2 separate regions of the Homo sapiens genome follow, and region 2 is linked to region 1. The links are contacts of gene promoters, found by promoter capture Hi-C in blood cells and fetal thymus (Javierre and others, 2016). All regions are on one chromosome and are shown on one strand. Each heading gives the region's core, a stretch centred on a gene start or on the middle of the fragment in contact. The rest is flanking DNA. Distances are from core to core; before and after follow the strand shown. Region 1 holds the start of STAP1 (signal transducing adaptor family member 1). Region 2 overlaps ANKRD17 (ankyrin repeat domain 17).

The links. Contacts are between HindIII fragments. The CHiCAGO score rates a contact against its expected background, and 5 or more counts as called.
Region 2: a fragment that was not itself captured here is called in contact with the fragment with the promoter of STAP1 in region 1 in 1 of 17 cell types (total B cells); the score reaches 5.3 in total B cells.

What each region holds. Positions count from the first base shown.
Region 1 is chr4:67,557,274-67,564,005 of GRCh38, reverse strand. STAP1 (signal transducing adaptor family member 1) reads right to left here and starts at 5,279. Exons shown (of 9, transcript NM_012108.4): 1 at 5,077-5,279. The coding sequence starts at 5,196. The HindIII fragment of the contact is 12,125 bases long and covers 1-6,732 here.
Region 2 is chr4:73,086,111-73,092,409 of GRCh38, reverse strand. ANKRD17 (ankyrin repeat domain 17) reads left to right here. Exons shown (of 34, transcript NM_032217.5): 29 at 110-1,743. Among named protein-coding and RNA genes, the nearest start is that of COX18, 20 kb to the right of the region's middle. The HindIII fragment of the contact is 491 bases long and covers 3,430-3,920 here.

The DNA.
Region 1 (6,732 bases), core at 4,030-6,529:
TTAAAAAAATTAATTTGGAAGGACATATCTTTGGAATGAAGCACAAATTTCTTTTTTTTTTTTTTTAACAATCGTTTGTGTGAAATCATTGATGTAAGAAAAGAGGCTGAAATAAGACTTCTGAATTTATCACTAGCTTAACTAGGAAACCTACAATCAAATGGTAGAATTTGAGTTTGAGAAGCAGCATGGTCAAGTGCATCACAATCAAATCCAAGCTAGCCTCCTTAATGGAAGAGGAACCTTGAATAACCTCTGTGGCCAGAACTCACTCATTTGTTTATTTGGAGTTGTTGTTTTAGAGAGACAGGGTCTCGCTCTGTTGCTCAGGCTGGGGTGCAGTGATGCAATCATAGCTCACTGCAGCCTCGAACTCCTGGGTTCAAGTGATCCTCCCACTTCAGCCTCCCGAGTACCTGAGAATACAGGGTGTGCCACCACGCCTGGCTAATTTTTTGATTTTGTAGAAATGGGGTTTCGCTATATTGCCTAGGCTGATCTCCAACTCCTGGCCTCAAGCAATCCTCCTGCCTTGGCCTCCATAAGTGCTGGGATTACAGGGATGAGCCAGCATGCCTCACCTACTCACTCATTTGTGAAGTGAATAAAATAATTTCTACCCAGAAGAGTTACTGTAAGGATCACAGTGACAGAACACTAAGAGCCTAGAATGGGATCCATTATATGTTATACCTCAAAAGGTTGCATTCATTATTATATAGTCCACTTAGTCATTGGAGCAACCTATTCAGCTATGCAAGAGAGTAATTATTCTTTTTAGAAAGGAGAGAACAGATTTAAAAATGTGAAGGAATCGCCCAAATTCTAGAATTGGACTGATACTTTTATCTCTTGACTTCCCAGTGCTCTTTTCTCATTAATACAACTAGCAAAAATGAATTAACTAGCAAAAATGAATTACAATGCAAGCTCCAGTTAAGTTTCTCTTCCTCTGTCCCCAATAAAAAGCTCTCATTCTTTGTTTTTGTGCGCAAGTAAAGTACATTTACCTAAGGAAGAATGTTGTATAGTGGTCTCCAAAATGGGATGCATAAATTCCAAAGGTGTGCAAGATGATCCATTGGGAGAGAAAATTTTAGAATATTTAATTATATTTTATTTCATATTTCTTAATTCATTTTTTATATATCAAATAATTTACATGGATTAATAGTACGGGAATATATATATTTATAATTTCCAAATGAATTAATATTCTTTTTTTGTTGTTTTTGAGATGGAGTCTCCCTCTGTTGCCCAGGTTGGAGTGCAATGGCGCAATCTCCGCTCCCTGCAAGCTCCGCCTCCTGGGTTCACGCCATTCTCCTGCTTCAGCCTCCTGAGTAGTTGGGACTACAGGCGCCCACCACCTCGCCCGGCTAATTTTTTTTTTTTTTTTTTTTTAGTAGAGACAGGGTTTCACCTTGTTAGCCAGGATGGTCTCAATCTTCTGACCTCGTGATCCGCCCGCCTCGGCCTCCCAAAGTGCTGGGATTACAGGCGTGAGCCACCACGCCCGGCTGAATTAATATTCTTATATTAGGGATCTGTGCTCAAAATGTTTTCCTGAAAGGAGTGTGTTATTTTAAAATTTGGAGATTACTGCCATAGAGAACTGTGTGTGAGCACAACTTAGACAGCCCTAAAAAATTTCCTTTTTTTTTGAGACGGAGTTTCGCTCTGTCACCCAGGCTGGAGTGCAGTGGCACGATCTTGACTCACTGCAACCTCCGCCTCCCAGATTCAAGCGATTCTCCTGCCTCAGCCTTCCGAATAGCTGGGACCGGGCCCGGCCCACACACACTGTTTTTTTTTTTTACTTTAGCACATCACAGATTGAAGAAATTATGAGACGTTGCCCAAACTATCTCTTATTTTCTTTCTTTTTCTTTTCTTTCTTTCTCTCTTTCTTTCTTTTTTTTTTTTTTTTTTTTTTTGACAGAGTCTCGCTCTATTGCCAGGCTGGAGTGCAGTGGCGCGATCTCGGATCACTGCAACCTCTGACTCCCAGGTTCAAGTGATTCTCCTGCCTCAGCCTCCCGAGTAGCTGGGACCACAGGTGCGTGCCACCATGCCCTGCTAATTTTTGTATTTTTAGTAGAGACGGGGTTTCGCCATGTTGAACAGGTTGGTCTCCATTTCCTGACCTCGTGATCCGCCCACCTGGGCCTCCCAGAGTGCTGGGATTACATGCATGAGCCACCGCTCCCGGCCCACCCACACTCTCTCTTATTTTCAAACGGTCCCAGAAAAAATGAGAAATTTTCCCATTTGTAAGAACTGCGATGCCAATGGTATTCCACTGTGGCATTTAACAGCTTTGATAATAAACACATCTTCCTGGTTAATTCAGAATCCTAGTGCTGTGGCTTAAATAAATCTTCCCACATTATCTTTTCCATAAAGATTATGTGTTTTTCATGGGTTCTTGACCTCAGATTTAGAAACCTTCTAGAATTGCATGCAAAATGGTATACGTTGTTACATTTTCCTGGGGAAAAGCTCTTTAAATACTTAAAAGTGCCCCACAAAAAATAGCTAAGAAGCACCTCTCAGCATTTCATGCCTTTATAGACCAGGTTACTCTTCAGTTATATTTTTTCTAGTTTAAATGTTCTGAATGACTTTGGCAGAGACCCAACTTTACATTCTGCAGAGCCTCTCACCTTCCTCTAGCCAATCAGCTCCAAAGATTACTTGGCTATATACCTTTGGCTCACCTTCTGTTCAAAGATTCCCTGGCACTTTGCTGCCAATTGCTTGGAAATTCCACTTATTTTGCTTAGATTTTTCTCATAGCTTCTATTTTCAAGTACTCTAATTATCACCATGCTCACTCTCCTTGGAGTCATATTACTTGCAGACCTCAAACTAATTTTAGTACCTGAATAAGAGTATGATAAGTGATGAAAGGGTAAGAGAATGAATCTAACCTTTAGTGTGAGCCAGGTGTTTTACATATGCTATCCCTTTAATCCCTGAAACCACCACATAAGTAGGTATTATTGTCATCCTCTTGCTCTCTTCTCCCTGACATACAAGTAAAAGGTACTTAGTGGTCTAACTCAGAGGCCCATGCCTGTAATTCTAGCACATTGGGAGGCCAAGGTGGGCAGGTTGCTTGAGCCCAGGAGTTTGAGACCAACCTGAACAACGTGATGAAACCCTGTCTCTATAAACAATACAAACGTTAGCCGGGTGTGGTATGCGCTTGTAGTCCCAGCTACTCAGGAGGCTGAGGCAGGAGAATCACCGGAGCCGGGGATGTCAAGGCTGCATGACTAGTGATTGCACCATTGCACTCCAGCTTGGGCAACAGAGGAGACACTGTCACACACACACACACACACACAGACACACACCCACACACACAAAGATACTTTACTATAAATTCAAATAGAAACACAAGTTAATTTCATTGGAAATATTTATGCCTATAGGTATTCATTCTGCTTCAAAGAATGCTTTCTAAGAGAAGGTAAAGAGTAGAAATTTGGTAAGGAAGACATCATTCCTACTATATTAAGCCTCTTGAAAATAAAATCTTTGTGTTTTTTTCCATATTCTCCAGAAATGAGTGATGCTTGGTGCATAGGAGGCACACAATAAATGTTGAGTGAATAAATTGATTGAACACCTACTGAATCCTAGAATGTACCTTAGGAGGCAAGTAGCAAGTAGTATACTCTCTATCTTATAGTTGAAACAGTCTCAAGGAGATTGAGTAACTTGCACAAGATCACAAGCTATAAGTGGCAAAACCATCAGATAAAGGACACTCTAAAATTCTTATTCTTTCTGCTAACCATACCAATGACATGTCTTCTTTAAGCATTTAAAAAAAACTGCTATCATAAACAGTTATTATAAATACCTTGGAAAACATTCAATGAACAACCTGATTTAAATTACTAATTAGAATTTTTTTTTCTCAACTTCCCTTTCCTGGCAAAGTGTGACTATGTGGCTTACCTGTGGTGACAAGATTGAATTTACATTAAAAGCATATAGGATCAATCTAAAAAATTCTAATATAACTGAAAGGTAATTATTTATGCATGTTTAACATCCATAACAGAATACAAATTACCATGTCTTTACTCTCAAATAGTAAATGATCTGATTATATATGTAAGAAATGTGAATATGCTATTATAGATTTTTCATATATATAATTTTTCCACAAGTATTCATAAATCCTCAGAAAATATATTTTAGCATCATTAAACATTTCTGATGGAATTTCTGAAAACCTTAAAATTTTTCTAGTTTTAGTCAGTATACAATTTCATAAAATTTGACCTAACTTAATGATTTTTTTATTTAATAACAGGCAATTTTGGGCTTATTTCTCTAATTAATTTCAAGTCATCCATAATTACTGTTTTAAAAGTAATGATTTTAACTAACTATAAGTTTTAATTATTACATTTAAAAATACAGAATGCTTCATGGATTTTCTTAGAGCAAAGGTATTTATGTAGCTTAGTGTACTTAATACCCACAGTAGTACCCCAAAAATTAAAAGTCACTATCTTGAATAGTATTTTAGAACACATAACTATATATAATGTTAAACAGTATGAACTTTGTCATTTTAACAATTTTTACAAAAGCCATTTTTAATAATTTGATCATTATAAACTTCAAATGACTCAGAACAGGAGCAGGTTTAATTTTAATCATGATATCATTTTATCTTAATGGTACATGTCATCATTGAAGCATAGCAATAAATTGTGGAGAAAATACAAGAAACATTTTATCTCCCAAGCCAAAATCTTTTGTGATATTTAAATAAATTCTTTGGAAATTTAGCTTATTGACTTTTTTATATTAGTGCCTTAATATTACAACCTCTGTTATTATACATATTATATATGTGTATACATACAGGTTTAAGCCAGACATTGTATTTAAATTATGAAAAATTGGAATCATTTTTCTGAGCTCAAAGAAGAGAAGATGATTTAATTTCAACAGAAACAAGGAGGTCTTAACACATCACATCACCATGAAATAAATATTAAATTAAAACAGAAGTCTTAGGTTTAACATTATCATCTATAGACTCACCCGGTATCCTGACCGCTTGATTAATAAAAAACCTTCAAAGTACAAAGGTAGAGCAGTAATCTTTAACCTTTCCTGGAAGATCCTGCGAGGGGCTGGTTTTGGGGGCTTCTTAGCCATCATACCCCTCTCTTTGGTGTGTGGTTTGGTTTCTCGTCTCAAACAAAATGAAATCTTCCTTCTGTGAGAGGAAAAGGCAACTGTTCAAAGAGGAAGTCCCAAATTGCTTTTTAACCACCAACACTACCACCAACAGGACACACACACACACAGACGCACACACACACACACACACTTTTTTTTCCATTACTTTTTGTGAGGTAAGAAAGAACAGGTGTAGACTGACTTTCAGAGGGCAATCTCTGGGTAATCCACATGTGCTTAGATTTAAAGCGCAAAATAAACAGAAGATTAACATCACCAGAAGATGAAAGAAACAGGTGTAGAGATTGTGAACTTTAGGGGAGATATCAAGAACACAGTTATTCTTTCTATCTTTGTTTTTGTTTATTGGTGTCCATTTTTATTTGCAGAAGACATGACTTGAATAAACTCAGCTTCATTAAAAATTACTTCATAGAATAATTTTATTAGTACTACTTCTGTTGGTTAAATATTTTAGGGTCAAGTTTTGTGTAAATAAAAAAAATAGTTGTATCTCATGCTCATTTGATGCTTCACTAAATATAAACCACAATTATGGGAACACGGAATATGGAATTTTTTTCTTTTTTCTTTCTTTCTTTTTTTTTTTTTTTTGCCAGTAGATATTCCAAGTACATGAGTTCCCAATGAATATTTAGTGCTATGTTTTGAATGTGTCCTCCAAAACTTATGTGTTAGAAACTTAATCCCCAATGCAACAGTGTTTAGAAATGGGACTTTTAGAAGGTGATTAAGTCATGAGGCCTCTGCCCTCATGAATGAATGAATTAATTAATGCTGTGGGAGTGGGTTTCTTTCTCTTTTTTCAGAGGCAGGGTCTTGCTCTGTTGCCCAGGCTGGAATACACTGGTGCAATCACAGCTCACTGCAGCCTTGACCTCTCAGGCTCAAACAATCCTCACACATCAGCCTCCTAAGTAGCTGGGACTACAAGGCACGCGCCACCACTCCTAGCTAACTTTTTCATTTTTTGTATAGACAGTATCTCCCTATGTTGCCCAGGTTGGTCTCAAACTCTTGGGCTCAAGCGATTCTCCTGCTGTGGCCTCCCAAAGTGCTGGGATTACATGTGTGAGCCATTGCACCTGGCCTGGAAGTGGGTTTTTTATAAAATCAAGTTTGGCACTTTCTCACATGCTATCATCCTCTCTTGCTCTTCTATCTTCTGCCATGGAATGATGCTGCATGAAGGTCCTCATCAGATGCTGGCCATGTTCTTTGACTTCCAGACTCCAGAACCATGAGCGAAATACATTTCTGTTCATTATAAATTACCAGTCTGTGGCATTCTGTTACAGCAACACAAAGGAGTCTAAGATATTTGGCAAAAAAATATCTGGCAGAGAAAGCTGTAAGTTTTCAAACTTTTATTTTGTTCTTTTGTGCTTTCTGAGCTGCAGACCATTGATACTATGATTCATGGATGGACTTCCCACAGTTATCTAGTGAGATTTATAAAGCTATACTGGGGCCAAAGTGCACTCAATGGTTGCA
Region 2 (6,299 bases), core at 2,426-4,925, 5.5 Mb before region 1:
ATACACACAAAACTGTGTGTGTGTTTGTGTACATAAATACATATTAAAAACACTTTACATACTCAAAAGTAGGGAAAATTCTACCTAATTTTTTTTTCTCAATTTATAGGGGTGGCACTGAATCAACAAGACAAGCAACTCAATTGATTAATGCTTTGATCAAGGATCCAGACAAAGAAATTGATGAACTTATTCCAAAGAATCGTTTGAAAAGCTCCTCAGCAAATTCCAAAATAGGGTCATCAGCACCTACCACCACTGCTGCTAACACTTCCTTAATGGGAATTAAAATGACAACTGTAGCTCTGTCATCAACATCTCAAACTGCCACAGCACTCACTGTGCCTGCAATTTCTTCTGCATCCACTCACAAAACCATTAAGAACCCAGTGAATAATGTGAGGCCTGGTTTTCCAGTTTCTCTTCCATTAGCATATCCTCCTCCACAGTTTGCACATGCTTTGCTTGCTGCTCAGACTTTCCAGCAGATCCGTCCACCAAGGTTGCCCATGACCCACTTTGGAGGTACTTTTCCACCAGCTCAATCCACTTGGGGTCCGTTTCCTGTCAGGCCTTTGAGCCCTGCCAGAGCTACTAACTCGCCTAAGCCTCACATGGTGCCTCGCCATAGCAATCAGAATAGCAGTGGTTCTCAGGTGAATTCAGCAGGTTCTTTAACTTCAAGCCCAACAACTACAACCAGTTCATCAGCTTCAACGGTGCCTGGTACATCTACAAATGGCAGTCCAAGTTCACCTTCTGTCCGAAGGCAGCTTTTTGTCACAGTTGTGAAGACATCCAATGCCACCACAACAACAGTCACAACCACGGCAAGCAACAACAACACTGCACCCACAAATGCCACATATCCTATGCCTACTGCCAAAGAACACTATCCAGTATCATCCCCATCTTCCCCATCACCACCAGCCCAGCCAGGAGGGGTTTCTAGAAACAGCCCTTTGGATTGTGGATCAGCATCTCCAAATAAAGTGGCATCTTCCTCCGAACAGGAAGCAGGTAGTCCACCAGTAGTAGAAACAACAAACACTAGACCTCCAAACAGCAGCAGTTCTTCTGGGAGTTCATCAGCTCATTCTAATCAGCAACAACCTCCGGGATCTGTTTCTCAGGAACCAAGACCACCTCTTCAGCAGTCTCAGGTTCCTCCCCCGGAAGTTAGAATGACTGTTCCTCCTTTAGCAACAAGTTCTGCTCCAGTGGCGGTGCCTTCTACTGCCCCAGTGACTTACCCTATGCCTCAGACACCAATGGGATGCCCCCAGCCTACTCCTAAAATGGAAACCCCTGCTATTAGACCACCCCCTCATGGCACAACTGCCCCTCACAAGAATTCAGCTTCAGTGCAAAATTCATCTGTTGCAGTCCTCAGTGTCAATCACATTAAAAGACCTCACAGTGTTCCCTCTTCTGTCCAGCTACCTTCGACCTTAAGTACACAAAGTGCTTGTCAGAATTCAGTACATCCAGCAAATAAGCCTATTGCTCCCAATTTCAGTGCCCCCTTACCATTTGGGCCCTTTAGCACATTGTTTGAAAACAGCCCTACTTCTGCTCATGCCTTCTGGGGAGGATCTGTTGTTTCATCTCAGTCAACACCAGAATCTATGCTATCAGGAAAATCCTCATATTTGCCAAATTCAGATCCTTTACATCAGTCTGATACTTCCAAAGCTCCAGGTTTTAGACCACCATTACAGAGACCTGCTCCAAGTCCCTCAGGTGAGTTTATATTTTCTGAGATTCTGCAGCTGTTCATTTGCACAAGTGATGTGAAAATTCTTGGTCATTTTCTAATATTTTTATTCTCTGGACGATATAGACAAAGATTGTTGGATTTAGTTAACTCAGATGCTGTTGTTTGTGTTTAGTATGGTGTTATTTTTAAAAATCTTTTTAAAAGCTACCATAGATTTTTATTTAATTTTCCATAAATAAGTCTTCTGATCAGGCGGGGTTTTTTTGTTTGTTTGCTTTTTGAGACAGAGTCTCGCTCTGTCACCCAGGCTGGAGTGCAGTGGCATGATCTCAGCTCACCGCAACCTCTGCCTCCCAGATTCAAGTGATTCTCCTGCCTCAGCCTCCCGAGTAGCTGGGATTACAGACGTGCACCACCATGCCTGGCTGATTTTTGTATTTTTAGTAGAGATGGGGTTTCACCATGTTGACCAAGCTGGTCTCGAACTCTCAACCTCAGGTGATTCACCCACCTTGGCCTCCCAAAGTGCTAGGATTACAGGCGTGAGCCACAGTTCCTGGCCTAGGCGTGTTTTTCTCTCTCAGAAGTCTTTCATGTTTTAATTTAATAAGGTACTGTCACCAAAAGTTTACATTTATTACAAATACAAAATAACAGATTTAAAAAATTGGGTTTCATTTCGCATTATCTTTTTTATTTCTAAAATAATTTTAAAAATAGAGCTACACAGTCTGATATGGTAGCCAATAACCATGTGTACTTTTTAAATTTAAATTAATGAAAATTTTAAAAATAAAAAAATTAGCTTCTTAGGCTACCCATATTTAAGTGCTTAAAAAACACTTGTGGCTGGTAGCTACCATATTGGACAGCAAAGATCTAGAACATTTCTATTATCCAAAATTCTACTGGGCAACACTGATATATGTAGAAGATACAAAGATCTCCTGATTGTAAGCTATTGCTTTTTTAAAAAAAACTTTTTACTTTAAAATATTTTTAGATTTATAGAAGAATTCTATAATTCCTCAGCTTCCCTTCATGTGACCATCTTACATAACCATGATACATTTCGAAACTAAAAAAATTAATATTGGTGTAGTACTACTAACTAGACTACAGATTTTAGGCAGATTTCACAAGTTTTTCAAGTAATATCCTTTTTCTATTGTAGGATCTAATCCAGGATGCCAGTTTCCATTTAAAGCTGTTGGGTTTTAATATAAGCATTTCAAGTAATTAAAGATAGTCCACGTAAGAGATGGACACACTATGGTCTATGGGCCAAATTTGGCCTGCTGCCTGTTTTTACATTTCTTAAATGTTTAAAAAAAAATTTTTTTTTTTAAGAATAGGCTTGGCACGGTGGCTTGTGCCCGTAATCCCAGCACTTTGGGAGGCTGAGGTGGGTCGATTGCTTAAGCCCAGGAGTTCCAGACCAGCCTGGGCTTAAGGGGAGACCCCATCTCTACAAAAATATAAAAATTAGCTGGGCATGGTGGTGCATACCTGTAGTCCCAGCTACTTGGGGGGCTGAGGTGGAAGGATGACTTGAGCCCTAGAGGCAGATGTTACAGTGAGCTGAGATCACACCTCTGCATTCCAGCCTGGGTGGAGACCCTGTCTCAAAAAAAAAAAAAAAAATTTAAAAAGAATAAACATGCAACACAAAATATGAAATTTTAATTTCAGTGTTTGTAGAGAAAGCTTTACTGAAACACAGCAATGCCCATTCATTTGCATATTGTATAAGGCTACTTTTATGCTACAATGACAGAATTGAGTAGCTGGGACAGAGACCATGTGACCTGCAAAGCCTAAAATATTTGGTATTTGGCTCTTGGTTGCCAACTCGTTATCTGTGTTATTGGAAATATGACATTCCGGGACAAAAATTTCCAAGTTTAATGGGAACTCAATGTTATTTTTACCTATTTCTGTAACATGTAAATAAAATTTAATGAAGGTGGTCAGTAAATATTCTTTGCTAAAAGTCAACTGAAATATTTATGTGTACTATGAAAAATAATTTATTTTATATTAAAACAATAGAATCAATATAATTAGATTTTAGATCATTATGTGCCAGTGCGTAGGAAATGCTTTAAGTTTGATTTTTATAGTAGTTGGAATTTAATACTTTACCTTTCCAAAAATGTGATAATCTAGGTGTGGGATTCAGAAAGGCTAAAATTAAGCTTTAGAGAACAAAAAAATAAATTCCTATTTTTTGAAAAGGTATAGAAGAAAGACCTCTGTAAGAAAGGTGAGGTTTTTAGGGAGTGTATAGTTGATGAGAGCCAAAATTAGCATTGAAGTTTAACTTACAAGTCAATTACCTAATTCAGGTCATTTTGAGTTAAAGATACTCCTTTTATTACATAGGAAGTATGTCCTTTTATTTTCTCCTAAACCTCTCTCAGATCCTAATTTTCACTTCTCTCTACTTCTTCCTAATTCATTTTGTGTTCCATATTTTTCTTCCTTTGTTTAACTTTTCTTATGTAAATAATTTGATTATTTGTATTTTAGACTCAGATCTGTTTTTATAGTTTGTATTTTGAAAAGTTATTTAAGTCACATAAAGATCTAAGGACAGAATAAGCAGCATAGTAAATACTTGGTATTTCCACATTTATTAATATATTCTCTGCTTGTTAACATCTTTTCAAACTCTCTCCCTCACTCCCCTCCCTTCCTCTCTCCCCTTTTCCTTCTTCCCTCCTTTTTTTTCCTCTCTTTTGCTGCTTCCTTTTCTTCCCCCTCTCTTGTCTTGTCTTACCTGTCTCTCCCCTTCTTCATCCTTCTTTCCTCCTTTTCCCCCTTTCTATCCTATCTCTATTTTCTTTTCTTCCCCATCTTTTGTCAAATCATGAGAAGATAACTTTCAAACATGATACTTTACCCCTAAATACTTTGATATGGATCTTCACAATGTTTGCCTTCACAGCTATGCCACTATTACTGCACCCAATAAAATGAGGATGAATTTGATAATAACACCCAACATAAAATGCCATTTTCCCAAATATATTCTTTCTGACTATGTGTGTCTCTTTTCCTTGCCATTTGATCCAAGACTCAATCAAGATTCACACATTACTTTTGGTTGTTATGTGTCTTTGGTCTCCCTCTGTCTAAAGTATTCTACTGCCTTCCTCTGTAATTCTTGACATTGACTCTGTGGGCAAGTTTAATTCAGTGATTATGTCAATCCATGATTAGATTCAGATCAAATATTTCAGGAAGGAGCATCATATAGGTGATGTTTTGAACCTCACACTGCATTTTATCAATGACAGATTGGCTGGATGTGGTGGCTCACACTTGTAATCCCAACACTTTGGGAGACTGAGACAAGAGGCTCATTTGAGGCCAGAAATTTAAGACCTGCCTGGGCAACATTGTGAGACCTTGCCTCTACAAAAATAAATAAAAAAGCTGGGTGTGGTGGCATGTACCTGTAATCCCACCTACTTGGGAGGCTGAGGCAGGAGGATCACTTGAGCCCAGTAGATGGAGGCTGGGGTGAGCTATGAGCAACAGAGCAATCTCCTGTCTCCTTAAAAAAAAAGAAAAAATGATAAATTGTTCCAGTATTGGCTGTGGAAAGCATGGCCGTGTGGTTAGTATGTAATTATCAGATCTCTTCATTGTAGAATTGTATCTACAGCCCTTTTTTGCCCTGTAGTTTTATACAACTCTTTGGTCCTTAAACCTATTTAAAATCCTACAGATATATATATATATATATATATATATATATATATTTTTTTTTTTTTTTTTTTTTTTGAGATGGAGTCTCACTCGGACGCCCAGGCTGGAGTGCAGTGGCACAATCTAGGCTCACTGCAACCTCCGCCTCCCAGGTTCAAGCATAAAATCCAATATTGACATGTGTTCTATAAAAGCTAATAAAAGGTAAAACAAAAATATAGCTAGGTGTAATGGTGAACACCTGTAGCCCCAGATACTCAGGAGGCTGAGGCAAGAGGGTTGCTTGAGCCCAAGAGTTTGTGGCTACCGTGAGCTATGATCACATGCCACTGCATTCCACCCTGAGCAACAGAGAAAGCTGTCTCCTAAATTAAAAAAAAAAATCGTTGACAATTATTTTCTTTCTTTTTTTTCTGTATTTTTAACCCGTTAGACTAAAATCAGATAGGTTACTTGTGTAATAGTTTAGTGTGTAAACATTTGTAATACTTTTTTAATGAACATATTTCAAAAACAAATGTGTACCTGTAAGAGAGAAAAAGAAGAGGAAGAGTAAATGTTTTATCTTTATCCCTAAAAATAAACATTTAAAAAAAAATGTTATCTAAAAATCCCTAAAGGTAAACGTTTATTCTTCCTCTTCTTTTTCTCTCTCACAAATACACATACATTCGTTTTTGAAATAGGAACATCTGGAAGTTTCACTTTCTGTTTTATATATGGTTTTTGGTTTTGGATTTTTTAAATAAGTTTGCATTAATTTTATGATCAATAAAGGCAACAAAAGTCCACTTTGACAGAAAGCCCATGTAAAGGAAAACTAATGATCCTTTTTAACTAAAACATTAATGCCCACTAGTGC